Regions from separate parts of the Homo sapiens genome. Here region 2 is linked to region 1. Evidence: promoter capture Hi-C in human tissues and cell types (Jung and others, 2019). All regions are on one chromosome and are shown on one strand. The core of a region is centred on a gene start or on the middle of the fragment in contact, and the rest is flanking DNA. Distances in the headings are between cores, read along the strand shown. Region 1 holds the start of MYH2 (myosin heavy chain 2). Region 2 overlaps MYH4 (myosin heavy chain 4).

Region 1 (3,013 bases), core at 440-2,939:
GAGTCTGGATTGCCATGTATACCAATAAATCTTAATATTTATTGTATTTCATAGGCCCAGTTGGAAATTCCACTAGACAGGTCTACTGTTCACCATACTATAGTTACTGAGACAAACATAATCACAAGAACGAAAATGCATCAGGTGGTCTCTGTGTACCCAATGCCGTATTTAGGGCTTTGCATCCACTGTCTTATTTCATCCTCCAGGACTCACATTCTCATTGGGAACTGAATTACAGTCCAGTGCTGCTGTCAAGTAGCTTGTGACCTTGGGTATGTCACTTGATGTTTTTGAGCCTAAGTGACTCCATCTTTAGAATAGGGATTATAAATTCTGCCTTTCTAAATTCACAGCCCATGATATATGTGAAGATACTTTGAAAAAGAGGTTTAAATGATGACTGAGAAAGTAATTTGAAATTGTTCAGGCCACCATTTATATATGAGATGTCATGAATTATCATGTCACAAAATTCCATGTCTTGAATGTAATGTAGAAGAACTTTATTTCCTCCTTTACCTGTTCAGCCAGATTTGTTGAAGTTCAGTGGCTTATTGGAGATTATAATTTTGTTTACCTTTTTTTCTTTTAGGTTAGGTGCTTAGTATAGTTTCTCTGACATAATTTTTTGCATATTAAATACAGTTCATCAGTTTAACCCCCTTAAACTAATTAGGGATAAAAACAGTAGCCAACGTTAACCTCATTCTTCTACATCTAAGGGCTCCCTTTACTATTCCAAATTTTCCTTTGAAGCATGCAGGCCCTGTTTGCTCCGTTCTATGTGATCTGTAGGTTGCCAGTGGTATCAGTAGAATGAAAGGTTTGGCAAATAATTCTACCGCAGTCATTACATGATCAAATTACTTGAAACTCATTTGAATCGTCTCTTCTAGTCTCTCCCTTTAGAAATGCAGTAAGTAGTGGGAGGGCAGATTAATACCTCTATTATATATAAGAAAAATGCCACAGCACTCGGCATTGTGTAAGGTGACTTTTTACAAGGGCTTTAAGAAGTTTAAAGAAAGGATTGTCTTACTTCCATTTTACATTGTTGGACATTATGTTTACTAAATGAATTCTAACAGCAGGATACATTTTTATCAAATTTGAGATTTTTAGCCAGGGAATCTGAGGGTAGACTCTTTTTTTCCTGCACAGACAATATATTTATTCAAAGCGATTCCCCTGCTCAAATGTCACCCCACCAATGCTTGAGCCGTAAATGAGGATGTGTGCATTGTCCTGAAAGGACAGTCCTCCCTTTCTCACCGCTTTCCTGAAGCACAGTTGTTAAAGGGTATTTACTGAGACAAGCACTTTCTGAAAGGTTGCTAAGTGACAGAAATCCATCCCAGAGCCTCTTGCATTCTCCTCCAGGAACTGGTTAGTCCAAATCTTACCTTGTTAGCAAGTGAGAAGATGTAGCCTGGGAGTGAGACAGTTCTATAAAAGAAAAGGGAAAAGCACTTGATTAGTTGACCAAAAAGAGGGGGAAAAAATCCCATTTATGGCATGGCTTGCTATTGTAAACAGAAGTAACAAAATTCATAGAGGTAAAACGTGCAGTTCCAGAAGGAGCAGTACCAGAACTAGCAGCTGCTGCTGACACTGGGCGGTGTGACCAGTGTCCCTCTTGAAAGGCCCGTCCTGCTCCCACTTACCTTGGAGCTTTTTAAAGCAGGACGAGTCAGCCTCATTCCAAGGGCTCTTTTATATGGATAGCTATGGAAACAATGCAGCTGCCTCTTCTTTCTTAAGTCAAAAGGAATTGTTTGGCAAAATACCTCTTGGCAATCTAGCGTCCCCGCATAATTCTCATTCATATTAAGAATGGTTGGATATAATTAGAAATATTTTTCTTATTGAGTATGTGGATAAATCTCCTATGGATAATTTGAGAAGATGATCTGAAAGAGTCAAGCTGGTGGATAAAGGCAGTGGCTGGGCAGCCAGGATACCTGGCTTCCCTCGGAACTTCTTTTTGGCTTTGCTGGGCACAGCATTCGGGCTTGCCTCGCATCACTTTCGCATATTTCACGTGTTAAGTCACATAAATAAAATACAAATATGTATTTTAATTTTGTGACAGTTAATTTTTACCTGTTGGTCCTTTCTTTCCAGCCCTGCAAAATTAAGCGATGTGCCTTCAACAACTTAAAGAGACAGAAGGTCCTCTCTGTTATTCCAATATTCCTGTAGTTTCAGGAATTTCCTTGCTCGCTCACCTTTTTGCTTTTGCCAAAGTTGTTCCCTCTACTTAGCACACCATTTCCTGTCCCCCTACCCATTTGACTTGCCTGAAATAAAAAAGGTTGAATATTTTCTAGTAGCAGAGGTGTTTTTAGAGAGTACTTTTCAACATTTTTTCGTGTCATAGCCCGCTGAGAAAAAAATGACAATATTAGTGTAGCATGCTAGAGTAATGTGGAAGGGATTTGTCTATATCTGTAAAGGGCTTGGGGAGAATATTTTTAATTTTTTTACATTCCTTTATGTAATATAAATATAATAACTATGATACACATAGCATTAAGGAAAATATTAAATACTGAATATGTCGGAAACTTACAAATAATATCTTCTTGAAAATCCTAAGGAAAAATTTGAGCTATATCCTACAAATAAAACTTGTTTGTTTCTGACTTTATTCTTGAAATATGACACAAATTTCCAGATCAAATTTTCAAAAATGATACAAACAGTATCTGTGTTCTTGATAATTACCATAGCGGGGATTTTTGTCCAAGAAGGAGGGATGAAAATGGAAAACCAAGTAATTTACAACTGTTGGAGTATTTTAAAAATTCACCAGTTCTTCTTTCTCCTTCATTGAAAAATATAATGTTGAATATTCTCGTACAGTGAAAATAAGTTTTTAATCCATTTAAACTCTCTCTTTCATATCAAATATTTCAAAGGATAATGAAGCTCTAATCTTCAAAAACTTCATGGGTTAAAGGAGTCATCAGCATTGGTCAAAGGGCACACCAGTCACAAATACACACAA
Region 2 (2,985 bases), core at 401-2,900, 100 kb before region 1:
ATTGCGGGCTTCCTGGACGATGTCCTCCATCTCTCCCTGGATTTGGGAAATGTCTGTTTCCAGCTTCTTCTTGGTGTTGATCAGGCTGGTGTTCTGTTTCAAATTAATGAAAGAGAAGAGAAGCACATTTACTTATAACAACTCACATTGTCATTTTACCTAGTGTACACAGGCAAAAATTATTGATCATAAGAAATGTTTAGAATAAAAACCAAATTAGAAGATAATTCTAAGTTTATGCCTTTTCTCCTTTCTATATATAGCTCTTTAATCAAACTTCTAAATTTAATTTTTGATGTCAAACATATTCAACTATTACCATTGCCATTTGTAAGCATGAAACACAGCCCACAAAACTCAAAGTGCTGTACCATGGAGCACCACACCACAGCTCATTTAAAATGAATCAGTAATTTTTAGCTATTAACTCATGTTGGTTGACTCCATATTTATAAATGCATAAATAGTTGTCTTGTTGGCTGGGCGCAGTGGCTCATGCCTGTAATCCCAGCACTTTGGGAGGCCGAGGTGGGCAGATCACGGGGTCAGGAGATCGAGACCATCCTGGCTAACACGGTGAAACCCCGTCTCTACTAAAAATACAAAAAATTAGTCGAGTGTGGTGGTGGGCGCCTGTAGTCCCAGCTACTCGGGAGGCTGAGGCAGGAGAATGGCGTGAACATGGGAGTCGGAGCTTGCTGTGAGCCGAGATCGCACCACTGCACTCCAGCCTGGGTGACAGAGTGAGACCCCTTCTCAAAAAAAAAAAAAAAAAAAAAAAAATAGTAGTCTTGTTGGGATAAAAATGAGCCAAGAATCCCTTCTGTTTTTGGCAAGTTGATGGTGTTTGGAATAGTCAACTTCAGATACTGTTAATAAGAAAAATGTTGCATATTAATTTGATTTTAAAATTATATAAAGCATGCAATTTTAACACTTCTATAATAGTTATGTTTATATAGTGCAACTTTCTGAAGTATACAGTACTATATATTTATTGTAAAAGATAGTAGAACATACAAATTAGCAGACAAGAAACAAAAAATAATTACTGTGCTCTCACCAGAGATAAAGGATAAACTTTTATTTATCTTTCTGGATGTTTCCTATATGTTTATACGGGAAAAAAGATCACACAGCCTATATTATTTTTAAGTTGCTTTTTTAACTTACTATAATATAAACATCTTCCCATGGCAATAAATTCATACTACAGTGGTTACATATTAGCCATTGTGAGGATATACCACCATTTATTTAACAAATTCACTATATACAACAAATGCTAACTAGTATTAATAATGGCCTCCATGAATTTGAACTAAAGAGCTTCTCTTTGTATCCCATGAGGTTAGCATTCTGTGCATATGTGATACGTAAATATTATTTAGTGGCTTTTTGTTTTTCTCCTCTATTTTATTTGCCTATCTTTTTGTAGCTTAGAGTTGCATAAGACAAGACAGCTACAAATGTTGTGTGTATGTTTATTTGTAGATGGTCTTCTGTGCTTTTTAAATAAAAGTTTCTAGAATTCCAGATTATTTCAACTCAACATGATTATGCCAGCCCATAAATATACTCGTGAACCAGCTAGGTCCCAGTAAATCCTTACAGCACCCTGTACATTTTCCAGAGCTCCAGGAAGGGACGAAGATTACTTTTTACTTTATAAACAAGCTTATCTTCTCAAATTATCTTCAGCTTCAGGGAGTACATTTTCTAAACCATAGTCTTGAACCTCACCTGAGTGTGCAGAAGTTGCACACGTTCACTGGCATCCAGAAGCTCTTGCTCTGCCATTTTCCTGCCTCTCTCAGTCCGTTCCAGGGATGCCCTGAGCTCTTCAACTTCAGCCTGCATCAGGTTAGCTCTGCGCTCAACCATTGCCAGTTGTTCCTTAAGGTCATCTTGGCCTCTGATGGCATCATCCAAATGTAGCTGAGTGTCCTACACAGAAAGAGAAAAAGCCTCTTACTCATGCTGCACTTAAAGCAAATGCAAACTTATGGTCATGTACACTCTTTGATCTTAATGACTTAGAGTATGATTAGATAGGAGCAATCGGCAAGTACCTTTAATAATAAATTCTTTGTAGCTGAGGGTTGCAGTTCTACTCAAAAGAACATGATGTTTTATTATTTTAGACCCTGAATCATTAAAAAATACCATGGCTAGCTCTACAAAATTTTGGATCAGGAAAGTATCCTTAGACTTCAGCGAGTCCAGTGGTGCTATTTTACATATTAAGCAAATGAAGTCCAGATTAATGAAGTGATTTAAGCAGTGGCATGTAGCCAAACTCTTTCATCACTTCCTCTATCTCCCTACCCCTCACCACAGTGCTTCTCTGCAGATAACAAAGCAAACTCTGTCCTGGGCCTTCCAGAATTAAGCTCTTTTTCAGTTGTGTGTGTATAACTTTGAACTTTGAACTGATTACCATGTTGCTTAGGTGATTTATGACACATAGTCCTCGTAAAACATTAAAATTTGAGTTACACAGTAGCACTGAGACTGTACAACACTATGTGTATTTACCCCAGCATACCTTCAGTATTCCTTGTGTGTTTCTAAGATTCCTTAGTGCCTCAGCAGCCTGGCGGTTGGCATGGTTCAGCTGGATTTCCATTTCATTAAGATCTCCCTCCATCTTCTTCTTGATCCTCAGAGCATCATTTCTGCTCCTGATCTCAGCATCCAGTGTACTCTGCATTGACTCCACAACTCTGAGATGGTTCCTCTTTAGCTGATCGAGTTCTTCATCTTTTTCAGCAATTTTTCGGTCAATCTCAGATTTCACCTGATTTAGCTCAAGTTGAATGCGAAGAATTTTGCCTTCTTCATGCTCAAGAGATGCCTTAATAAAAGCAACATTTATTTAGGTTACCTAAAGAGCTTTTTATTTCTTTCACATTATGATAATTTCCCCAAGAAGGCATTAAAAAACCCATAAACTATCATACGTCTTAATGTAGCCTATTAGCT

The links. The method cuts DNA at HindIII sites, captures the fragments that hold promoters and counts their contacts. A contact is called where the count stands out against the background at its distance.
Region 2: a fragment that was not itself captured here is called in contact with the fragment with the promoter of MYH2 in region 1 in 3 of the 25 tissues and cell types used here (adrenal gland, neural progenitor cells and thymus).

The regions. Positions count from the first base shown.
Region 1 is chr17:10,547,969-10,550,981 of GRCh38, forward strand. MYH2 (myosin heavy chain 2) reads right to left here and starts at 1,690. Exons shown (of 40, transcript NM_017534.6): 1 at 1,668-1,690; 2 at 1,407-1,449. All of the region lies in intron 2 of MYHAS (myosin heavy chain gene cluster antisense RNA), which reads left to right. The HindIII fragment of the contact is 30,725 bases long and covers 1-3,013 here.
Region 2 is chr17:10,445,270-10,448,254 of GRCh38, forward strand. It overlaps MYH4 (myosin heavy chain 4), which reads right to left. Exons shown (of 40, transcript NM_017533.2): 34 at 2,549-2,857; 35 at 1,744-1,947; 36 at 1-93. All of the region lies in intron 2 of MYHAS (myosin heavy chain gene cluster antisense RNA), which reads left to right. Among named protein-coding and RNA genes, the nearest start is that of MYH4, 23 kb to the right of the region's middle. RefSeq lists an enhancer at 1,570-2,769. The HindIII fragment of the contact is 4,935 bases long and covers 1-2,985 here.